Regions from separate parts of the Homo sapiens genome. Here regions 2, 3, 4 and 5 are each linked to region 1. Evidence: promoter capture Hi-C in 16 types of primary human blood cells and fetal thymus (Javierre and others, 2016). All regions are on one chromosome and are shown on one strand. The core of a region is centred on a gene start or on the middle of the fragment in contact, and the rest is flanking DNA. Distances in the headings are between cores, read along the strand shown.

The links. The method cuts DNA at HindIII sites, captures the fragments that hold promoters and counts their contacts. A CHiCAGO score of 5 or more calls a contact.
Region 2: a contact is called between a fragment that was not itself captured here and the fragment with the promoter of SOS2 in region 1, in 1 of 17 cell types (fetal thymus). The highest score is 5.8, in fetal thymus.
Region 3: a fragment that was not itself captured here is called in contact with the fragment with the promoter of SOS2 in region 1 in 1 of 17 cell types (fetal thymus); the score reaches 5.3 in fetal thymus.
Region 4: a contact is called between the fragment with the promoter of POLE2 here and the fragment with the promoter of SOS2 in region 1, in 6 of 17 cell types (naive CD4 T cells, fetal thymus, activated CD4 T cells and 3 more). The highest score is 6.7, in naive CD4 T cells.
Region 5: a contact is called between a fragment that was not itself captured here and the fragment with the promoter of SOS2 in region 1, in 3 of 17 cell types (erythroblasts, total B cells and naive B cells). The highest score is 6.8, in erythroblasts.

The regions. Positions count from the first base shown.
Region 1 is chr14:50,230,285-50,232,881 of GRCh38, forward strand. SOS2 (SOS Ras/Rho guanine nucleotide exchange factor 2) reads right to left here and starts at 1,294. Exons shown (of 23, transcript NM_006939.4): 1 at 913-1,294. The coding sequence starts at 999. RefSeq lists a silencer at 886-1,965 and an enhancer at 2,116-2,205. The HindIII fragment of the contact is 6,352 bases long and covers 1-2,173 here.
Region 2 is chr14:50,795,604-50,798,200 of GRCh38, forward strand. All of the region lies in intron 4 of NIN (ninein), which reads right to left. Among named protein-coding and RNA genes, the nearest start is that of NIN, 34 kb to the right of the region's middle. The HindIII fragment of the contact is 1,304 bases long and covers 638-1,941 here.
Region 3 is chr14:50,775,416-50,778,012 of GRCh38, forward strand. NIN (ninein) reads right to left here. Exons shown (of 31, transcript NM_020921.4): 7 at 1,534-1,724. Among named protein-coding and RNA genes, the nearest start is that of NIN, 54 kb to the right of the region's middle. The HindIII fragment of the contact is 1,458 bases long and covers 564-2,021 here.
Region 4 is chr14:49,686,930-49,689,526 of GRCh38, forward strand. It overlaps POLE2 (DNA polymerase epsilon 2, accessory subunit), which reads right to left and starts at 1,285. Exons shown (of 19, transcript NM_002692.4): 1 at 1,207-1,285. The coding sequence starts at 1,274. RefSeq lists enhancers at 522-1,283, 1,284-2,043 and a silencer at 1,348-1,397. The HindIII fragment of the contact is 3,892 bases long and covers 1-2,597 here.
Region 5 is chr14:50,753,274-50,755,870 of GRCh38, forward strand. NIN (ninein) reads right to left here. Exons shown (of 31, transcript NM_020921.4): 19 at 1,469-1,594; 20 at 1,290-1,359. Among named protein-coding and RNA genes, the nearest start is that of NIN, 77 kb to the right of the region's middle. The HindIII fragment of the contact is 518 bases long and covers 1,059-1,576 here.

The DNA.
Region 1 (2,597 bases), core at 44-2,543:
AAAAGGCAGAAGAGACTAAGTCTGCATTAACGGCAAAGAAAGAAAGCCCCTGCTCAACAGGCATGACAGCTGATCACGCACCTATTCACAGTCTTTAAATGTCTTGATCTTACAGAAGGATTTATTATAAAAATGATCGTATGGTTACTACCTAAATTCACAGAGGAAGACCGCCACCATCTACAGGAAAGATGCACCCTAGCAATGCACCCAAACATGAAAGACTGATTTGCAGGAGTTGCCCCTTTCTTGTTCCTTAAAATGATTTCAAGTCCTAAATCGCAATTTGGTCGTGAAGACACTGAAGACACTGACCAAATTTTCTAAGGGTAATCTCTTGTAAACAGGTAAGACACCGTTTGCAGGAAGTGGGAAGGCGCTTTAAATTTACCTTGAGAACTGTAAAATGAATAAGAATATTATGACTCACTGACATTTCACACATGTGAAACATCCATATTACAAAAAACCATTGCCTCATAAGTGGATACCCTTGACAAGCAAACCGCCTAGGGGGAACACTCCCAAAGAACTTAATTAAAAGTAATTACCCGGCCTGAAAATGTGCTTTTGTTTTAGAAACTGTCTAAATACCAGCGGGACTTTCTCTTGCCCGATTCCAGCCTGAGGACAACAAATTGGTCAACGGCGGAAGTTGCCTGACGAAATGACTGCAACATGAAATCCAGTTTTATGATCATAACAAAACCTTCCTTCCGGGACCAGGCAAAAAAAAAAAACTTGAGAAACGTCCTTCAGAATGCAACAGGCAATTGTGAGCCCCCCATTGCCAGCCAACGAGAAACGGCTCGGCCCCGGGGACTCGAGCCCTGTGGGAGGGACGACCTGCTCCCCGTTAGAAGCTCGGGGGGCCACGGGCCACCCGCCGGCCGCCCCGCCCCTAGCACTGACCTTCCGCAGGGCCGAGACCAACAGTCCCCGCCATTTCGGACTGTTCTCCTCGCTGAAGAACTCGTAAGGCTGCGGCGCCTGCTGCATGGCCCCGGCGACAGCGCCTCCGCATCGGGGGCAGCCCGCGGGCCGGGCCGGTGGCCTGACAGGCAGGGCGCGGGCCGCCTCGCCTCGCCGGCGGCCGCCGCCTCCCGCCCGGGCCGAGGCTACGGCCGAGGCGGCTCGGAGGCGGCGCCGGCGGGCTGGCGGAGACCCCGGGGTCGGCTTCCTCCGCCGAGGCGGCCCTCGCCTCCCGCAGCGCCCGCAGAGGAAGCGCGGCGACCCGCAAGCCCGGGCGACCCCGGGCGGCGACCTCCTTTCCCGGCGGCGCTGGCCCGCTTCTGGGGCGGCTCCTCCTCCTTTGTCTGGGTTCGCGGCCCGTCAGGGGTACAGCTGGCCCAGCCCCGCCCCGACTCCCGCTACGGCCGCGGCGGGCGGTGAGCAGCGGCGGCGGCGGCGGCGGCTGCTCGTCTCCTCATCGCCTCCTCCCCGCCCTCCCAGCCGACAGCGCCGCCCGGCCCTGCCCACTCGAGTCACCTCCACAGAGCTCTGGGGACCGACCCGGAGTGCGCGTCGGGCGAGCGAGCCTCGCTATGGCGCGCACAGCGCTGGCCGCCGTTGCTGCCCCTTTAGCAGCAGCGCAGAGTGCCTTGGGGTCGCCGCTGAGCCCTGAGTCCCAGCAGCCGAGGCTCGGCCCGCCCCCTCGGCCCGGCGCTCATTATCCCGAATAGCCCAAGAGGCCTAACACGGAGCATGCGCGCCGCGGAGCAGGCACAGGCGCCAGCCCGGCGCGGGGGTGCGGGGCCTGGGGCCCCGGGGGAGTCCGCTTTTCCCGAGACTGTGCTGGGGGCCGCTCCAGACTCTTCAGTTTGACTGCTTTTTACCCATATGCTCCCTCCTCTCGACCTGCTTAAGACAATCCGGACTCGGTGCCACTCTTGTAGCGCTGGAGCCCCAGGACTACCGTCGTGGGAGGCTGCATAGGGACGTGGAGAGAAAGGGGCATTCGGGCTGGACAGGATATTTAACGTATTTGTGCTCTACGTGGCTTGTTTTCATGAGTACCGTATGTTTACACAAAGTAGGTACTATATATAATATATCGTTAGGAGATACAGTAACTATTTCTTAGGGTGATGGTGTGGGGACCGAGAGATGAGGCGTGGAAAGCCCTTAGCCTGGTGGTAGGGTCAGAAGGGGCAGATGACAGTGACGTTGATCAAGCTTGAATTGAAAGGTCCTTCACTTGCACGGGCCCCTGTGCGTTCACAAAATCATATCGTTTTTACAAAACTTTCAAGATATTTTCGAATTGTTTTCTTAATCGTGTCATCCAAATTGTGTAGGCTTCAGGTCCTACAAAACCTGGATCGGCGTCTAGGAAACACTCATTAGCAACCCAGAAAAGATCCTGACAAGCTTTTCAATCCAAAGAGGCATAGGCTCTGGTAACTCATTACCACAAATTTCATCCCACTAAAGAGGCTGAGCACATTACTTTTAACAGGTTGTAAAGAAGATATTTTACTCCCTGTCCCTAGCCACCAGCAGTGAGAAAGGGAAAAGACGAACAGGGTACAAAAAATAAGTCAGTACTACAATTCAGTTCCGGCATCAGTAGCTGAGCAATTATTCTCCCCAAAACA
Region 2 (2,597 bases), core at 40-2,539, 570 kb after region 1:
TACTTTCTGAGCACATCCAGATGGAACCTTTATTTTTCAGGGTGTCATTCTGGAATAATCTTATCTATGTCAGATAACATGGAGGCTTTTGGTTTATTAAGAAACGAAATTATTGACATCACAGAGCTTCCACAGGTGAGAGTATCTGCTCCAATCACCAGCTCCAAGAAGGGACATGAAATGCCTGGCCAATATGGCGAAACCTGGACTCTATTAAATACAAAAATTAGCCAGGCGTGGCGGCTCGTGACTGTAGTCCCAGAAACTTGGGAGGCTGAGGCAGGAGAATCGGTTGAACCTAGGAGGCAGAGGCTGCAGTGAGCCGAGACTGCGCCACTGCACTCCAGCCTGGGCAACAGGGCAAGACTCCATCTCAAAAACAGAAACGAAACAAAACAAAAAGAAATGCTATCAAAACAAAGTATAAATGACTGCCATGCTTTCAGTGTTTCAGTGTTTGAGTTCCTTGAAAGTGTATTTATGATTCTCCCTGGATTGTTAAGCTTCTGAGTCATTTTTCCTTCTTTCCCATTTTCCATTTCTCCTATTTGGCATCACTACAAAAATTAAAGTGGGCTTCAAAGGAAAGCAGACAAGCCCAGCTTGCCTGGAGGTGTCTCAGACCCCATCCCTGGAAAGCTTATTATGAGACACACCAATCAGAGGAAGGTGGCTTTGAGGCAGTCCAACCTGACCTAGTTTAATGATCTAGGTTTTATTCCATAAGCCAAATGCTTGGTTATGAGCAGGGGACAGTAGAGAAACCTTGCTTCAACCCTCCACTGGAGTAATGTGGAAGTGAGTGACAGTCTCTACAGAGCACGTGGGGAAAACATCTGATTCGAGAGTTAAAAAGATGAAGAAAATACTATGCCTTCGGGCCTTAGAAATGACAGCTGGGTTGCTCACACGCCACATTTGTTATTTCACATCTCATCTGTCCCAAGAAGAGAAACTCCAGAGCTTCGATAATGTTCCCCTTCCAAATCAGGATAAACCACCATGCACATGTATGATGCTTGACCAGAGGTCTTGCACTCATAATAAAAAGAAAGTTAAAATATGGTGTCAGGGAGAATGACCACTCAGAGTAGATAAGCCAGCTGCAGCCAGGGGAAATAACAAACACCCGCCTCATTCCTCTCCCAGTTCCTTTCCCAGCAGCAGTGTGGAGGGGAGAAACACAGCCTCCCCTACTCCAGGTTTCAAGCAATACAGAGTACACTTTTTAAAGCTCTCCCCTAAAACTGACCACTGCACCAGATCACCACATCTGCATCAGATGTGATACAGGTCACTGCTTAAAATGCTCAGCTCTCCTAAAACCACTGCATGAACAGCCAAAGCCAAAGCAATGAGGACCTAAGGGAAGCTAAAATCATTATGCAAAAGCCTGAACACTATATATTCAATTGAATGCTTTCTTTGCAAAAACATAAGCTCAGGACCTGGAATGGAGTGGCAGCCATAGCTGCTTCCTGGAAGTTAAAGGAGATTTTTCAAAGATGCTCCCCAGTGTTAGGCAGATTCATTTAACACATAAGCGTATTTACCAAACACCTGCCATAGGCAAAACATTACGTTGTACCTATTGAGGAAGAAGATGGATATTTTAACTTGTTTTTTGAATCAAAAAATTCCCTGTTCCCAAAAATGACCTGAGGCCATTTCCAAGGATGAAGAAGAAAACCCTGTCGTTAGGGTGCTGGTATTCTCATTTTGGAATTGCTCGCATAGGACTTTGCTTTCTATGTCCCTTCCTGACTCATTTAGTGAGCCTGGGAAATCATTCCCAGAGACACCACCCCCATCCAAAGAACCTCAGCACAGGAGGCCCTTCATGTTACATTGCTGCTGAGCTCACAGGAATGCTGAAATCCGTTTGAAAAGGAAAGGTAAAAAATGAAGCATGTGCAAACCTCAAGGCCAGCATCCCCAAGAAGCTTTCTTGGGAAAAGGCAGTCATGCAGCAAATGAGCCCCACCCTGCCCCATTCTACATCCCACCTCCTCGCCTATGCTGAATGCACCATCACACAGGGATTACACAGTGAAAATGCAAACCCACGCCTGATTCTAAATAAGAGAAGGGAAGAAAATCCAAAGGAACACTAAGACCAAGAAAAATACAGACAGAGACCAGTGGAAACTGACACAGAGAGACAGATATGGAGAGAGAATGAGACAGAGACTGAGACCAAGAGAGGGAAAGAAGTGGGTGGGGAAACAGGAGATAATAGGGACCTAGAGGCCTATGGAGGGGTGGGGAAGGGGAGCAAGAGATATAGATGTGGGAAGACCACCAGGAAGGGAAAGAGTGGAGTGGGAGACTGAGGAGGAGGAGGGGAGAGATGAGCTGGGGTGGAGGAAAGAAGGGAGTTGGGAGGGGAACGTCTCAAGGATGGGAAGGGAGAAGGGGAGGCCAAGAAAGGTTAAACATTAAAAAGGCATCAGCAGAAGCTTTCTGACATGATCTGCCTTTCCTTTTGCTTCCCAGTGCACTCCCTGCCTCTAGGGCCATCACCAGCAAGCAGCCGCACCACACTTCTGTGTGCACTAAGCCCTTTCCAATTAGCACCTCCCTCCCCAACTACTTCT
Region 3 (2,597 bases), core at 43-2,542, 550 kb after region 1:
TCTCTACCTATAAAATGAGAGGTGACTAAATCTAAAATGGCGTTCAGTTGTAAAATTTTAGGATTCCAAGTAAATGAGATCATCTTGAACTTCCAGCTCCTCTGTGGTTTAGAGCTAGTAATACTAAGTACTATAGAATTTCACTATTTTTCTTTAGCAGGAAAAACACTAAGTAAAAGTTATATTCTATGAGCAATCCTCTACTTGTCCTCAGGCCAGAGGAAAATAACTAAATGTGCTACTTCTTTTCCTGAGCTTTGGAAACCACCACAGAAGAACATGCAGCTCTCCACAAGTAGCTACAGTTTATTCCAAGAATTGGTTTTAGATAAATAATCCAAGTTTGTGCAATATTTTTTGGCAAAAACAACCCAAGGTTCTACATATTGCACTGATTTACAATTCAGGAGAATAAATTTAATTTTATGACTTAATAGTCACCAATGAAAAATAAATTACCACTGAGCCATTACAAAGGTAAACAAAGGGTATATAATGGTCAAAAATACAGGAAAGAAGGGGAAAACAACAAAAAAAATTTTCTGTAAGCTAGGCTACTTGAAAGCTTTTGAAAATAAATCAAAAGCTATTATTTGTTTAGAAAAATACCACTAAACAAATATTTCTATTATCTGTTTAGAAAAATAATACCACTTATCCCCCGAGCAAGCAGAAAGCATGGTTTCAAATATCATTATAATCAAAGATTCCCAAAGCGACAACTGTAGCCCTACCCTAACTCTCTCCAATCCTTATTTTCAGCTCGTTGAAAGGCACATCTTAGAATTATTTCTATTCTTATGTTTCACAGCTATTCATGCACCCAGTCCTACCAGTTCCTCCCTTAATTTTTTAGAAAACATAAAGCTCAGAGTTTTACCAAAGAAGAGTCTTTTGGGGGCTCCTTCAAAACTCTTCTTAGTATTTTCAAAACAACCAAACTACCCTTTACCATTTTCTCATGACCAGAATATTGTAATGGCTGCTGGCTGCTCTCACCCAAGGCTCTCTTCATGCTAATATGTAAAAGCAGTTTAGCTCCTCGTCAGCAAGCAAGATTTTTCTATATATTGCTCAATCTGCTTAAGAACTCAGAGATGATATTGAGATGTTCTTTCCAAAAACTTAAATTTATCCTTCTGGTCTTCAAAATACTCCCCCAACTCAAATCTACTGAAATCCTTGCTTAATTCTGCCTCCACATGTTTCCCACAATTTACTCTGTGAATGGCACCTCTACAAATACATCTGACATCATGGCTACAGAGAGCTAGTGCCTGACAGTTTCACATGGGGTAACCTGCCTAGCACAGTGAGCTTACAATAGCTGGGTAAGTGTCAGCTCTTGTCAGTTTTTCTTTTTCACAACACAACAAGAGCTCCTCAGTGACAGAATCTTCATGAATGACTTCTTAGGAAAAAAGAAAATGGAGCCTAACAAGCTGCAGAGAGCCACACTACAGCTGTTCCTAGCATGTGGTCAACTACACTTTTACCATCATTATCATTCCTGAATTATACTGCGAGGCTTACCTCTCCATCCACATTCTGTAAACCATACTGCTCACAGATGGAGACCAGCTTCTTCCGGTTCAGGTGACCATCACGGGTGATCCCCAAATCTTCACAAACTTCTTGCAGTTTCTCTTCTATCCAGTCTTGGGGAGGGGAAGATCCACTCTGTGAAGCATTCAAGTCATCTGGGTTCCAAAACCTTAACTGGCCTGAGAGAGAAGCATATGTTGCACGGTTTCCAAAGGAATTGCAAAGAGAGAGTGCCTATTCTTAAAGAAAACTGTGCTTTTTGAAAATAAATACTGTAAGAAAAAGGCAATAAATGTCAATTCCATTTTGATTTGGTCCTGAAGCTCCCATGAAACAGAATCAATGGTTCTAAGGCTGCAACTAGAGTAAATGGGTACTTTTTGGCTCCCTGACAGTCATACCGGTGTAATAAATATAATCTCCTGTGCAATACTGCAAAGTTCTAGGCTTGTTTTATTTCAGCTGAGCACATCACAAGCTTAGGCTATAGTGATCATAGAGAAAGAAGGCTGGTTGAGGGCCATTATCGAGAACTCTGTAAGCTCTATCTCAACTATAGCTACCAGAATGTATTACCTCCACTTTCTTTCCAGCCTAAGTACTACAGCATCTTTTACTGAAAAGAAAATAATTTCATGATAAAAGTCTCAACATTAGCCTGTTCCCAAATCCTTACATATGAATATTCTGACATACAGAAACCAACAGTCCAACTGAAATTAAAAAAAAAAAATCAATGGTTGCAAGCTATAAGTTCCCAGTTATCTATACATTAAATTTCATTTGAAGACTTAAGGATCAAACTACTTATTTAAAAATCAAAACTTCTTATTTATTCTCTATTAAAAGCCCTCACTTCTAAATTTTGCTTTACACATTAGAGATTCTGTAAAGTCATTACTTAAACATGAGATAATTACTGGCACAATTTTGTGTGCTTGGAAGAACCTCAGAGGGTTGAAAGCAGTATTTAGTGCTACTCCCACTCTTTAGTGACAGGAATTAAGCCCATTACTGCTGTGGCGTTTCAACCTAGAGAACAGGTTGTAATT
Region 4 (2,597 bases), core at 35-2,534, 540 kb before region 1:
CAATAAAAACTGATACAGAGAGGTATATCCAATCCAGCAGGTATTTCAATATGTATAAAATATTGTGTTCTAGGTCAGGCGCAGTGGTTCACGCCTGTAATTCCAGCATTCTGGGAGGCCACGGCGCGAGGACTACTTGAGCCCAGGAGTTCAAGACCAGCCTGGGCAACATAGCCAGACCCCGTCTCTAAAAAACATACAACAACAAAAAATCAGCCAGGTATGGTGGCCCATGCCTGCAGTCCCAGCTACTTCAGCCCAGGAGGTTGAGGCTGCAGTAAGTCAAGTTCGCATCACTGCCCTCCAGCTTGGGCGAGAGTGAGACCATGACTCAAAAAAAAAAAAATACATATATATATATACACACACACCACACACACACACACACACACACACACACACACACACGTACATATAGAACTCTAAAACACGGAGCAGATTTAATGAGAGAAATCTTGGGAAGGTTCATATGTTCTATAGGTCCTCAAAAACACGGATATGCCCAGGAAACCTGACTTTCACATAAATTGGCAACTGCAGACGTGCAAGTGGGCTTTCTCGGGTCTCTCATCTTATGTCTCAGCAACCTTCCCGGGAGCCTGAGAGCTGTCCAGGTCACAATGTTGATAACCGGCTGCCATAGATAGGTTGCAGCTTCTCGGGCTCAGTTTGACATGTGCAGAAGAGCCTCGGCCCGCCTAGAAGAAACATTAAACTCCTCGCATGGGTCGGGGAAACCAAAGAAGGCACGGCAGCCTCAAGATCCACCTCGCTTCTTAGAACTTTTTTTTAATGGAGTCTCTCTCTGTCGCCAGGATGGAGTAGAGTGGCACGATATCGGCTCACCGCAACCTCCTCCTCCCGGGTTCAAGCGATTCTCCTGCCTCAGCCTCCCAACTAACTGGGACTACAAGCGCGCGCCACCACGCCCAGCTAATTTTTGTATTTTTAGTAGAGACGGGGCTTCACCATGTTGGCCAGGATGGTCTCGATCTCCTGACCTCGTGATCCGCCCGCCTCGACCTCCCAAAGTGCTGGGATTACAAGCGTGAGCCACCGCGCCCGACCGCTTCTTAGAACTCTGAAATTTAAGGTCAAGCCCCCTCTCGGCGCGCGGGGAGCCGCCGCGGTGCGTCCCGCTGCCGCACCAGGCAGACGGGCCCCAGCTCTTCCCTCTCGCCCTTCAAGCTGCCCGAGCCCACTCACCCACGGAGCAGCAAGCCCCGCAACTTGAAGGCGGAGAGCGCCCGGCTCCGCAGCCGCTCCGGCGCCATATTTGCGATTTGGCGCCACCGCCGCAGCTCCGCCCCTTCCCGGGCGCGCCCCTCCCAGCTCCGGCCTCGGCCCTGGCCCGCGTGGCGCTAAACCCTGTTAAGATCCCTGCTTGGTCTCCGCTGCCTGCGCCGCAGCAACTCAGACCTTACAGTTCGCAACCCCGGACCGAGTAGGCTGAAAGTGGAGACCACCTCGCGCTCCTTTGCTGCCGGGAAACTGAGGGCCAGAGCGTCTTCCCTGGTGTCGGGCTGCGTTGAGCCAGCCACAGCGCTCTCACCGCTGCCCTAGACATTGCAGGACTGCGGCCGAGCTTCCCGGACACAGGATCCCCCTTCTTTCGAGGCCATGAGAGCTGTTGGGTTCCCTACTTCGCACAAGCTCTGGAAATACTGTGCCTCGACATTTACCGGAAGCTGTTATAAATCTCCATCGCTCCCACCTACCCCGATTTTTATTTAACTTGAGGGCTTCGTATGCGCCATGCACTGTCATAAGCACTTTAAATGTGTGAATTCATGTGTTGCTCATGACAGCCCAGTGAGCTGTCTACTGTCTTTTCCACAACAGCCTCATTTTACAGATGAGAAAACTGAGACACAAAAATGGTAAAGGACTTGCTCAAGATGAAACGACGAGTTAAATGGTGTAGTCAGGATTTGAACTCAGTTATTCTGATTTCAGGTGGACTGTCAATCTGCCACACTTCAAAACGCTTGCTCCAATGAGTTGACTAACCCGTGGAGTGCTTATAAGTAAACACGCGGCTTATAAAACAGGAGGATGATTTCACAGTACCAATATAAAGTGACCTCCAACGTATACGGGTTTTTTTCTTTTTTAAAAAAAAGCGAAGTTTAATGAAGGAAGGGAAACAAAAGTATATGTATTTGTTTTTGCATTTTAAAAACCTCTGGGCCCGGGCGCGGTGGCTCACATCTGTAATCCCAGAACTTTGGGAGGCCGATGCTGGCAGATCACTTGAGGCCAAGAGTTCGAGAACAGCCGGGCCAACATGGTGAAACCCCGTCTCTACCAAAAAAAAAAAAAAAAAAAAAAAATTAGCCAGGCGTGGTGGCGCGCGCCTGTAATCCCAGCTCCTGGGGAGGTTGAGGCAGGAGAATCTCTTGAGCCTCGGAGGCGGAGGGTGCAGTGAGCCGAGATCGTGCCACCACTCCAGCCTGGGCAACAAAGCAAGGCTCTGTCTCAAAAACAAAAAAAGCCGGGCGCAGTGGTTCACGCCTGTAATCCCAGCACTTTGGGAGGCCGAGGTGGGCGGATCATCTGAGGTCAGGAGTTCGAGACCAGCCTGACCAACATGGAGA
Region 5 (2,597 bases), core at 68-2,567, 520 kb after region 1:
CCTGTAATCCCAGCTATTTGGGAGGCTGAGACAGGAGAATCGCTTGAACCCAGGGGGCAGAAGTTGCAGTGAGCTGAGATTGCGCCATTGCACTCCAGCCTGGGCAACAAGAGCGAAACTCCGTCTCAAAAGGAAAAAAGACTCTTTCCAAGTCAGTGTGTTCAGCAACCACCACATACTACTTTTTACTGGCTATAGGATATTCCATGTAGTAAGATATTCCATAATGCATTTATCTGTTCCCACGTTGATAGACATAAAGTTTTTAAAATCATTATTTCTTTTAAATGGATCTTTTAGAAAATCCATTTATACATGGTAGTATTTTGTATTTAGAATTATTTTTTAGAAGTAGGATTGCTGGGTTAGAAGATCTGTATATAGATATATATTCATTATTGTTTCAACAGATATCTCTAATATGTCTTCCTCACAGTGCTACCACCTTATAATCCTAACAACAATGCATGGGCACAGTCATTTCCTCACATCCTTTTAAATACTAGATATCAATCTTTACTTCTTGCTAATTCAATAGGTTAAAAAAAAGACGCTTATTGAATTTGCACTTCTCTAATCACTAATAAGGCTAACCATCTTTTGTATTCTTTTTTTTTTCTGTGACTTGACCATTCATATAGATTGCCTATATTTCAACTGGATTTTCCCATTTATTTGTAAGAGTCCAAAATACATTTTGGATGTTAACACCTTGTCTATTTCAAGTGCTGAAAATACTCTTTCCCAATATGTCCTTGTCTTTTGACTGCTTCAGACAGATTCTTAAATGGCCTTCCCTTTTTATAACTGCATGTTGTAAGATTATACAAATTGAGCACTGAATGGCACCAGCTATCTGAATAAAATGTAATTCTGTGAAATGATATGCTGATTAGCTGGCATTCTGTATATGTGAAATTCTGCCCTTAACTTTCTGCTTTCAATCATGGTGAGGAAAAAGGAAGGGCTAACATTAACTGAAACTGCACAAGGGCTACAGCTAATATTTCGTAGGTATGGTTTTAGAGGTATCACCTCCTCAATTCTGCTGATGATAAAGCTTTATCAAGCACTTAGGGCCTAGAATAATATATACATTATTTAACATAAAACAGGAAGCTAGTTTAGAGTCAGTATGAGGTAAGTTTCCATTTTCAAATTCAGAATTTACAACCTTACCATCATTAGCTATATGCTATTCATTACCGTGTGCTGTAAATTTATAAATTTCAAAAAATGGGAAAATTTTGGAATCAAAAAACATTGAGAAATATTAAGTATTTCCTTACCTGTTTCTTTAAATTTTCAACCATCTTCTGAACTGCAGCATTTTCTTGTTTTACAGTTTCCGTTTTTTGCCTAAAAGGAATGATGAAAATAAAATTTAATGGTTAGGCTTTAAAAGCTGAAGTAAAAGAATTTTAGTCTTTGCAAAAATGTCTTAGGAAAATGTAAGTATACGTCTTACCACATTTCTTCCTGAGATCCATTTAATGTCCCTAATTTCAGGTTAGAAATGCTATCTTCTTCATTTAAAGTAGTAATTTCATTTCTCAAAATAGAATTTTCCTGTTGAAGCTTTTCAGATTCATATCTGAAGCACAGAGATTGAAAAAAATTGTTACAAGGCAGTCATCTGGCATCTTTGGAAAATATTTTCTAGTAACTTCCAAAAGGATGAGTATTCAATGCCAGTTAAAAAGAAAAGTCTAAATTAGTAGTCTCTTAGTATTTGGAAATCGAGTTATGACATATTGACACATTTCTTTTGGGAAGTAAGAATTTCACTAAAAGATGTTAGAGAAGTGTAGCTAAAAAACCCTTAAGCCTGGAGAAATGAATCAAGACTCAATGCTCATTCTGGTTGTTGATTTTTCTCAATGGCAAGCATACTGCTTTGAGCAAATGTCTTCATTTATCTCAGTCTCAAGTCCTACCTGTTCTGAATACACATAAGCCATGTTACAAAGCTATATTAGCTTAGTTTTAGGCCCCTGGGTACCTAGGGAAAGAAAATTCTCTATTGAAATCAAAGGGCCACAATGAAATATGTACACTGTTTACTTTGTGATTTTATTCATCTCATTATATTCTGATTTTTAGGACTAAAAATGGTCTGAAGAAGAGGAAAAACTACATTCAGAATTAAATTATTTCAGAGACATTTCAGACGTCCTGTAATAGTTTACAAGTTTTTTTTTTTTTTGAAAAACCAAATTTGCTAGAAGACTATGCAATTATATTTTACAATGTCAAGTGGGCAGTGGTTCAAATTAATTCTACTTGTATCTCTGCTTTTCAAGCATATTTATTAGAATCTGGAGGCTCCTCAAATTATATGTTCTAAGATAAATTTCCACTGTTTGTTTTGTCTCTTTTTTTTTTTTTTTTTTTTTTTTTTTTTTAAAAGAGACAGGGTCTCACTCTGTCACCCAGTCTGGAGTACAATGGCATGATCATGGCTCACTGCAGCTTTGACCTCTCAAGCTCAAGCAACCCTCCCACCTCGGCCTCCCAAGTAGCTGGGACCACAGGTGTGCACCACCACGCCCAGCAAACATTTTTTTATTTTTCTGTAGAGGCAGTCTTGCTATGTT